Regions from separate parts of the Homo sapiens genome. Here regions 2 and 3 are each linked to region 1. The links are contacts of gene promoters, found by promoter capture Hi-C in human tissues and cell types (Jung and others, 2019). All regions are on one chromosome and are shown on one strand. Each heading gives the region's core, a stretch centred on a gene start or on the middle of the fragment in contact. The rest is flanking DNA. Distances are from core to core; before and after follow the strand shown. Region 1 holds the start of DPPA4 (developmental pluripotency associated 4). Region 2 has its middle 12 kb from the start of LINC01205. Region 3 overlaps DPPA2 (developmental pluripotency associated 2).

Region 1 (3,308 bases), core at 282-2,781:
TGGGATTACAGGCACGCACCATGCCCGGCTAATTTTTGCATTTTTAGTAGAGAAGGGGTTCTGCCATTGTTGGCCAGGCTGGTCTCAAAACTCCTGAACTCAAGTGACCTGCCCACCTCAGCCCCCCAAAGTGCTGAGATTACAGGCGTGAGCCACCATGCCCAGCCCAGAACTCCAGTTATTCTGAATGTTACGTTCAATTACACTGACAAAAGAAAGATGATTCAGTTATACACTTTATACACAAACCTTAATTAGAAAGTCCTACTGGTGGTTACCAAAGGCTGTGGTAAAGAATTGTTAAATCAAAGCCCTAATATCTCCCAGATGACCTCAACTCACCTGGTTTCCTCTTTGCCGCCTTGGGGGTTGCCCAGTCCACAACCTGCACTTCCTTCTCTATTCCTGGGCTCCGTTTACTTACTTTTTCTGTCCGTGGATTTCTAGCCTGTGAGCAGATTACTAACACCATTTGGATAAAGACAGTCTCTTATTTATCATTTTAGGACAAGCAATGAGATGTAGGAAAAAAAAACAACAAAGTAAACCAAAGAACAAAAGAGACTTTGGACCCTGACAAGGGAGGGTTTCAGTCGCACAGCCACTGCTTCCTTCACTTCACATCTCTTGACAATCTGACAGGGAGCACTGATCTGAGGAAAGATTTTTCAAATTATTTTAAGGAGAAAAACTTGAACTTCTTTGGGAGTCAGTAGGTTAGGGGTTCACTTACTGTGCTATTGAAAAAGTTACCAATAAAAATTTATACCAACTTTAGTCATATATAAAATGGGGAACAATAATGACTGAATTTAAAACTCACAATTTGAGATATAAAAAAATACTCGGGCGGGGAGTGGTGGCTCACGCCTGTAATCCCAACACTTTGGGAGGACAAGGCTGGAGAATTACTTGAGGGCAGGAGTTCGAGACCAGCCAGGTCAAAATAGCCAGACCCCCCCACTTGCCCTCTACAAAATAAATAACAAATACTCTATAGACTTTAAAAGCTACTATTATTAGTTCGTTGGCAGATGAAAAGATGCTCGGTATTAGTACAGAGAAACCTGGAGTTTTAGTTGGTTGAGTAACTTACTTAGGAAATGGAATGTATTTGGTACGAGAAAATAGCTTTCTTCAAGCCGCCAGTCTGGTCTCTGAAGTCTACTGTTGCCACAAGTTCCATTATTAAATCCCTTCACACATCCTGCTCAAGTCTCTGGCCACTGTTTTTTTGTTTTTTGTTTTTTGTTTTTTTTCCCCGTAGAATCGTTCTGAAGGAGTGCTCAATCTCCCAATGTCTCCGGAACCATACTTTGGATAATTACATTTAAAGTGAACAGAAAAGGGCCAGGAATAGTATTAGTAATTCAACCCAGACAAAAGTCACCCCATGAATAAGAAAGAATGCAATTTTAGCATTTACAAATTGTGGGGGAGGGAACAGAAGGGGAGAAGAAAAGAAGAGGTGAGGTGGAGAGAAAAAGGGTCTTCGGGCGGCAGGAAGTGGGAGGAGACTTTGCAAATAGCAATCTTGGGGCAGGGGCCATTTTGGAAGCATGTTGCGAGGCTCCGCTTCTTCTACAAGTATGGAGAAGGCAAAAGGCAAGGAGGTCAGTACAGTTTTAGTGGATTTGTTTTCTGTCTGTCTTTGTGTTTCTGTCTTCCCTGGGCACTCCTGATTTTTCCTTTAAGGAGAAAAGAATGTGCCTTCGAATTTTCTCCTCTTGACTTTTTTTTTTTTTATTTTAAGAGTAAGGCCCAAGAATATGATTGCAGCCTGGTATATTGGAGTGAGCAGACAAGTAAGAAATGAGGTTTTCTAGGTTTAGTTGAGGAGGTTGAGTGTGTCAAAAGATGGGGAAAAAAAAAAAAGAGGCCGGGCGCGGTGGCTCACGCCTGTAATCCCAGCACTTTGGGCAGCCGAGGCGGGCGGATCACCTGAGGTCGGGAGTTCGAGACCAGCCTGACCAAAATGGAGAAACCCCGTCTCTACTAAAAGTACAAAATTAGCCAGGTGTGGTGGCGCACACCTGTAATCCCAGCTACTCGGGAGGCTGAGGCAGGAGAATCGCTTGAACCCGGGAGTCGGGGGTTGCGGTGAGCCGAGATCGCCCCATTGCACCCCCAGCTTGGGCAACCAGAGCGAAACTCCACCTCAAAAGAAAAAGTTAAAAAATTAGGTTTTCAGGTTTGTGTTTTGGAACAGGGTTTCACTTTTGTCTCCCTGGCTGGAGTGCAGTGGCACCATCACTATTCACTGTAACCGCCCAGGCTCAAACGATCCTCCCACCTCGGCTTACCAAAGTGCTACTGGGACTGCAGGCGCCCGCCGCTGCTCCCGGCCCGGGTTTTCTGTTTTGAAGAGGTGCTTAGTCCTGTCAGAAAGAACTAACTGAATATGGGGGCTAGAGGGAAATGGTAACAGGAGAAAAGGGTGTTAAAGGAAAGATTTTAGGAAGAGGTAATTGAGCTGAGTTTGGAAAAGAATGAAACCCCTTAATTTCCTTTAGACGGACACAGATCCTAAACCGAGGGTGCTGAGAATGAATTCGTCCCCTTTTCCCAGCGTCCTTAGGACCTAGGAGTAATCAGAAGCCAGACATTGGGAACAATGCAGACAGAAACTGAAGGAAGAGAGGATTTAAGACGTTGCACAGGCACTGAACGGCCATATCCGAGCGCTCTCAGGTCCTCTTGACTTGAACTGGGTCATTTTTAACTGTCTCGGTTTTAAGTCTTTTGTGAGGTCCAAAGTGAGTACTTTTTGTAAGGTTTATGCAAATATAAATTTCAAATCAAAATGTAGAACTGCTATAGAGATGTAAAAATGCCATACAAATGTTAATTTGTCCAGTAATCCACCCTGAAAGTGAAGAAAAGGATTTAGATTTAGGAGAAATTTTATTATATTAATTTTTTTTTTTTAATGAGTTTGACTCTGTCGCCCAGAGTGGTGTGCAGTAGCCGATCTCGGCTCACTGCAGCCTCTGCTTCCCGGGTTCAAGCGATTCTCCTGACTCAGCCTCTCGATTAGCTGGGATTGCAGGCACGCACCACCACGCCCAGGTAGTTTTTGTATTTTTGGTAGTGACTGAGTTTCGATATGTTAGCCAGGCTGGTCTCGAACTCCTGACCTCAATCGGTCAGCCCACCTCGGCCTCCCAAAGTGCCGGGATTACAGGCGTGAGCCACGGAGCCTAGCCTTTATATTTAAATTTTAATTTATATCTAATGTACCCCTAATCTGTGTCTTTATGTTACCTCTGATTCTCAGCTTCTGTGTCTGAGAAGTAATTGTTGCCAGA
Region 2 (3,308 bases), core at 362-2,861, 60 kb before region 1:
TCTCAAAAAAAAAAAAAAAAAATATATATATACACACACACACACACACACACACACACAAATATTTAAGGTAACTTTATTTATAATAGTCCACACCAGAAGTTAATCCAATGTCCATCTACATTTGGGTGGAAAAATAAATATTAGTTACTTTGGATGACAGTATTTACTGAAAACACACCTCATATTACCTTCTGGGCTGCTGCATATATTCAGATAATTTTAACCGAATTGTGGTTAAAAGGTGTTTTCATATGTAAAAGTTCATGGAGCACTTAAGATTGGTACACTTTATTGTGTATATTATATGACAATAAAAAATTTTTAAATGAACCAAAAAATATGATCGTGTGTGTGTGTGTGTGTGTGTGTGTGTGTGTGTGTGTGTGCGCGCCCTATTCTGGACTCTTTTGTGTTCCTTAGTAAAACTGGAGCCTGCCAGCTTGTAGCAAGAGAGAAGTAGCAAGAGGATTCTCCCTGACCACATCCAGTTCTTACCTCTAGGTGGAATTAGAGGACCAGCTACAACCCAAATCCTCCCTGGGCACATCCAGACATCAAGCTTTCCTTCCTACCTAGCCTCACCCTCCTGCCACTGGTGATCAAGAGAAGAAAAGCAGAAAGAGTGGGAAGCAGTCACTAATTCCAGCACTGGCCCAGGTACAAATGTTTACCCAGAAAATAAAAGCTTTAAAGGATCCCATAGAGTCACTGCTTATATTAATTATGTTATACAATAACAATAGAGTAATTTCAACCACCTCTCATCTGTCTCTACTCTAGGCCTGATAATACCCCTTTCGGGGAACGTCTGACCTAAAAGTGTAGAGTGGAGGCAAAAAGTAAGGAAGATCCACCCCTTTAATGCTTCCATTATATGTTCCCTATACTCAATCTATCAAAGGTCACATTCCTTTATTAGTGGAACAGGAGTGTTCTACACATAGCACAGTCTTCCCAATACTTGTTTCTGCTTTCTCCCAGTCTTTTGTAATTTTTTTTGGGATGAGGTCTCACTGTGTTGCCCAGGCTGGAGTGCAGTGGCATGATCTCAGCTCACTATAACCTCCACCTTCCCGGCTCAAGCCATCTTCCAGCCTCAGCCTCCCAAGTAGCTGCAACCACAGGCAACGCACCAACATGCCCAGCTAATTTTTGTATTTTTGGGAGAGATGGGGTTTCACCATGTTGCTCAGGCTTGTCTTAAACTCCTGAACTCAAACGATTCACCGCACCCAGCCATCTTTTGTAGTTTTTAACAGACGTATTCTTTTTTCTGTTTTGCAGATTGTCTTCTCTTTTTTTTTTTTAATAATAAAACTAATTCTGGCCAGGTGAGGTGGCTCGCCCCTGTAATCCCATCACTTTGGGAGGCCAAAGCAGGAGGATCACTTGAGTCCAGGAGTTCAAGACCAGACTAGGCAACACACTGAGACCCTGTCTCTACAAAAAAATTTAAAAATTAAAAACATTAGCCAGGCATGGTGGCATGATCCTATAGTCCCAGCTACTCAAGAGGCTGAGGTGAGAGGATCATTTAAGCCTGGGAAGTCGAGGTTGCAGTGAGCTGTGATTACACCACTACACTCCAGCGTGGGTGACCCTGTCTCCAAAAAATAAATAAATAAAACTAATTTTAATTGCACTTGCATTTTATATGTCAAGTATTACATCTTTAAGCCTACTAAATTTCTGATTAAAAAAATTGTTAAACAGTATCAAAAGCATAGTCATATTTGTTAAGTTTCATATTGGTAATTACTGGTTCTGAATTCATGTAAACATCTGCAATTGGCCAGTGTAAACAAAGAGGATAGACGATGGTAATGGACCTTAATTAAACAGCCATCACTGCAATCCCATACTATTCCTTTCACTTTACCTACTCTGCAGCTTTCAAACCAGGACAACAGATCATTGTGCTTCAACATAGGCAGGTTTCTTTTTTTGAGTCGGTGTCTCGCTCTGTCACCCAGGCTGTGGTGCAGTGGTGCGACTCTGCTCTCTGCAGCCTCTGCCTCCTGGGCTCAAGCGATTCTCCTGGCTCAGCCTCCTGAGTAGCTGGGATTACAGGCGCCTGCCACCACGCTCAGCTAATTTTTGTATTTTTAGTAGAGAAGGGGTTTCACCACATTGGCCGGGCTGGTCTCGAACTCCTGACCTCAGGTGATCCGCCGACCTCAGCCTCCCAAAGTGCTGGGATTACTGGCATGAGCCACCACGCTCGGCCCAATATAGGCAGGTTTCTTATTTGAAATGGTCCGTGTAGTATAACATATTGTGGATGCTTCTTCCTTCCTAACCCATATGGGTTTCCATTGATATTTGTTCCTATAAGCTGCAATGTTTGTTCCAAGAAATCTGATAATGGCACGGCACTAATTTCCAAAAGCCTAGGATCCTCAGGATGATGCTTTAGTACCAGATCAATTGCAAATTCATAATTAACCACAGAGGAATGCCAGTAATGCTATTTGTTATTTTTCTCTACTGGTGCCCCACCAGGAATGTGTCCATGTTTCGTCATGGACCAGATTCCTATTTAATTTTTCTGTTTCCTTTGCTGCTAGCCAACACTCTGGAGTAGCTTTGAAGTACTCCTCAACATTCCAAGAAAATTCTTTGAAGTTTTCTTTTGAATGTAGAAAATTTTAAAACCTTTTAACAGGTTGTTTGTTAGGTTTTCTATCTAATCAAACCGAAAGGTATCTCTGTAAGTAGCAACGTAACAACATGTTCCATCCACTTTTTCTGTTGGAATTGCACTGTAGATACCTGCATCTAATGCCTCATGACTTACAGTTTTCGTTGCCAAAACTTTAAATGGCTGATTCTGCCTTTCGGTGGAGGGCTCCTTTTTCACCTCCCTAGAAACACACGGCATTTTCCGCTACACGGAGCCCAGGCGCCTCGTGGTCGGCCCAGCAGGCGGTGCTAGAGGAGAGCGCGTTTGTGAGCAGCGCCAAGCACACGCGGGAAGAAAGCCCTGAGCAAGTAAGCCGGAGGCTCAGACCGCTCACACCACGCGCCCAGCGACAGCTGCAGCCCGCGCCCCCAAAACCTTACCTCCGATTTTTTTTTCTTTCTAGACTTCCTCCTTCAGGATTATGATGAATGAAGGGTTAAGAATATGGAAATAGAGGCCGGGCGCGGTGGCTCACGCCTGTAATCCCAGCACGTTGGGAGGCCGAAGCAGCCAGATCACTTGAGGTCAGGAGTTCGAGACCAGCGTGGCCAACATGGCAAAACACCATTGGGCATGGTGGCACACGCCTGTAATCCCAGCACTTTGGGAGGCCGAGGCGGGC
Region 3 (3,308 bases), core at 225-2,724, 38 kb after region 1:
GAGTAAGCCACCGCACCCAGCCTTAAATTTTTTTAAATGAAAAAACCATAAGCATTTATGAATGGGGAGGAGCTGCATGAAGAGAGGGGAATGGAGAGTATAAAGATGAAGGAAGCCGGGCATGGTGGCTCACAACTGCAATCCTAGCACTTTGGGAGGCCAAGGTGGGCAGATGACTTGAGCTTAGGAGTTTGAGACTGGCCTGAGAAACATAGTGAAACCCTGTCTCTATATAAAAAAATTAGCCAGGTGTGGTGGCATGCACCTGTGGTCCCAACTACTGGGGAGGCTGAGGTGGGAGGATCACCTCAGCCCTGGAAGTCAAGGCTGCAGTGAACTGTGATAGTGCCACTGCACTCCAGCCTGGGCAGCAGAGTGAGAACCTGTCTTAAAAAAAAAAAAAAAAGATGTGAGATCCATTGCAGTATGTGGAATGTAAGCCCTGAGAGTAAGTGAACAACCCTTTTCCTTTATTTAGTACATAAAGTCTTTTTGTGCACCATTCCTAGGTTTTAGGGCAAATGACTCAGGAACTCCAGAAGTGCATTCTTTTTTTTTTTTTTTTTTTTTGAGACTGAGTCTCGCTCTGTCACCTAGGCTGAAGTTCAGTGGCTTGGTCTCGGCTCACTGCAACCTCTGCCTCCCATACTCAAACAATTATCCGGTCTCAGCCTCCTGAGTAGCTGGGACTACAGGCCTGTGCCACCATGACCGGCTAATTTTTGTAATTTTAGCAGACACAGGGTTTCACCATATTGGTCAGGCTGGTCTCAAACTCCTGACCTCAGGTGATCTGCCCTCCTCAGCCTCCCACAGTGCTAGGATTACAGGCGTGAGCCACCACACCCGGCCCAGAAGTGCATGCTTTATTTTATTGGTCATTTTAAAGGGATTGGTAAGGGATGGTTTACCTTGCTGTAGCAATATTTCACAGTTCTTTTCTACTTGCCTTACAGGAATAAGAAGATGATGAAAAGATTAATGACAGTAGAGAAGTAGCAGCAACCTGTTTGAATACAATGTAAGAGATGAGAATATGCCACCTCAAAATAAGTATTATTTTGATTTGAAGGCAATTGAAAAGAGTCACATACAAGAGAAACTCTCTGCCTTCCCCCTATTCACTAAAAAACAGGACATAAATGTATCAAAGTCTCTTGTCTGCTGTCTACCAGGAAGTACAAATGGTGGCGCGTCTGTAGATAACTTGCATCCCAATCATTGCTGTGCTGTGTCCTGACCATCTTTGGTATCTCCTGATGCCTTGAGTACTGACTTACTAAATAGTTAGCTGCACAGAATACAATTTGGTTTTGTTTTAATTAATGGACTCTTTTTTGAAAATGAAAACTTGAGTGAAAAGTATAGGGTTCCCATGTATTCCCATGTACACGGTGCTTCACACCCCCTCCATTTTCCTCTGTTAGTAACTTGCATTAGTGTGCTACATTTTTTACAATTGATGAGGCAGGGCTGGGCATGGTGGTAGTCACCTGTAGTCCCAGCTACCGGGAAGGCTAAGTCAGGAGGATCACTTGCACCCAGGAGGAGTTCAAGGTTGTAGTTCTCTGTGATCACACCTGTGAATTGCCACTGCACTCCAGCCTGGGCAACATAGTCTCTAAAAAAAAAAAAAAACTAATGAGTCAATATTGATACATTATTCTTTTTTCTTTTTCTTTTTCTTTTTCTTTTTTTTTTTTTTGAGACGGGGTCTCATTCTTGTCGCCCAGGCTGGAGTACAATGATGAGATCTCAGCTCACTGCAACCCCTGCCTCCCAGGTTCAAGCAATTCGCCTGCCTCCGCCTCCCAAGTAGCTGGGATTACAGGTGCACACCACCACGCCCAGCTAAATTTTTATTTTATTTTTTTTGAGACAGAGTCTCACTCTGTTGCCCAGGCTGGAGTGCAGTGGCGTGATCTCAGCTCACTGCAACCTCCGCCTCCCACCTCCCGGGTTCAAGCAACTCTCCTGCTTCAGCCTCCCGAGTAGCTGGGATTACAGGCATGTGCCACCACACCCGGCTAATTTTTTTGTATTAGTAGAAACGGGGTTTTGCCATATTGGCCAGGCTTGTCTCGAACTCCTAATCTTGGGATCCACCCGCTTCGGTTTCCCAAAGTGCTGGGATTACAGGCGGGAGCCACCGCACCCAGCCCCCAGTCAATTTTTTTTTTTTTTTTTGGTATGTTTAGTAGAGTCGGGGTTTCACCATTTTGGCCAGGCTGATCTGGAACTCCTGACCTCAGGTGATCCACCTGCCTCAGCCTCCCAGTGCTAGGATTACAGGCGTGAGCCACCGTGCCCGGCCTCTTTTTCTTTCTTAAAAATTTGTTTATTTTTGAGACAGGGTCTGGCTCTGTCACCCAGGCTGGAGTGCAGTGGCACGATCTCAGCTCACTGCAACCTCTGCCTTCCGTGTTCAAGCCATCCTCTCACCTCAGCCTCCCAAGTAGCTGGGACTACAGACACACACCATAATGCCCAGCTAATTTTTTTTAATTTTTGGTAGAGGACGGGTTTCACCGTGTTGCTCAGGTGAACAGCCTGGTTCAAGACCATTGAACTCCTGAGCTCAAGCAATCCACTCGCTTAATCTTCCAAAGTGCAGGGATTACAGGCGTGAGCCACTGTGCCTGGCTATTTTATTATTATTATTATTATTATTATTTTTAGACAGAATCATACTTTATCACCAGGCTGGAGTGCAGTGACGCCGATCTCAGCTCACTGGAACCTCCGCCTCCCAGGTTCAAGCGATTCTCCTGCCTCAGCCTTCCGAGTAGCTGGGATTACAGGCACCCGCCACTATGCCCAGCTAATTTTTTGTATTTTTTTAGTAGAGATGGGGTTTCACCATGTTGGCCAGGCTGGTCTTGAGCTCCTGACCTCGTGATTCACCCGCCTTGGGCTCCCAAAGGGCTGGGATTACAGGCGTGAGCCACCGTGCCCGGCTATTTTATTATTTTTTTATAGAGATGGGGTCTCACCATGTTTCTCAGGCTAGTCAAACTTCTGGGCTCCAGCAGTCCTCCCACCTCAGGCTCCCTGAGTTCAGGGATTACAGGTGTGAGCCTCTACACCGAGCAGATACCTTATTATTAACTAAACTCTATAGTTCATATTAGGTTTTATTATTCGTGTTGTACATTCTATGGTTTTGACAAATGTAAAATGACATTTATCCAACATAGTGTCATACAGAATAGTTTCACTACCTTAGAAATCCCTTGTGTTGCACCAATTCATCCCTCCCCGCAAGCCCATACACTGGAAACCATAGATCTTTTTGCTCAGTCACCCAG

Evidence for each region. The method cuts DNA at HindIII sites, captures the fragments that hold promoters and counts their contacts. A contact is called where the count stands out against the background at its distance.
Region 2: a contact is called between a fragment that was not itself captured here and the fragment with the promoter of DPPA4 in region 1, in 2 of the 25 tissues and cell types used here (heart left ventricle and stomach).
Region 3: a fragment that was not itself captured here is called in contact with the fragment with the promoter of DPPA4 in region 1 in 1 of the 25 tissues and cell types used here (neural progenitor cells).

Annotation. Positions count from the first base shown.
Region 1 is chr3:109,335,769-109,339,076 of GRCh38, reverse strand. DPPA4 (developmental pluripotency associated 4) reads left to right here and starts at 1,531. Exons shown (of 7, transcript NM_018189.4): 1 at 1,531-1,613. The coding sequence starts at 1,560. RefSeq lists enhancers at 1-207, 1,426-2,033, 2,034-2,642, 2,643-3,251. The HindIII fragment of the contact is 13,883 bases long and covers 1-3,308 here.
Region 2 is chr3:109,396,216-109,399,523 of GRCh38, reverse strand. It overlaps the pseudogene RLIG1P2. Among named protein-coding and RNA genes, the nearest start is that of LINC01205, 12 kb to the left of the region's middle. RefSeq lists an enhancer at 2,919-3,308. The HindIII fragment of the contact is 3,574 bases long and covers 1-3,308 here.
Region 3 is chr3:109,298,084-109,301,391 of GRCh38, reverse strand. DPPA2 (developmental pluripotency associated 2) reads left to right here. Exons shown (of 9, transcript NM_138815.4): 8 at 957-1,021. The coding sequence ends at 999. Among named protein-coding and RNA genes, the nearest start is that of DPPA2, 17 kb to the left of the region's middle. The HindIII fragment of the contact is 8,558 bases long and covers 1-3,308 here.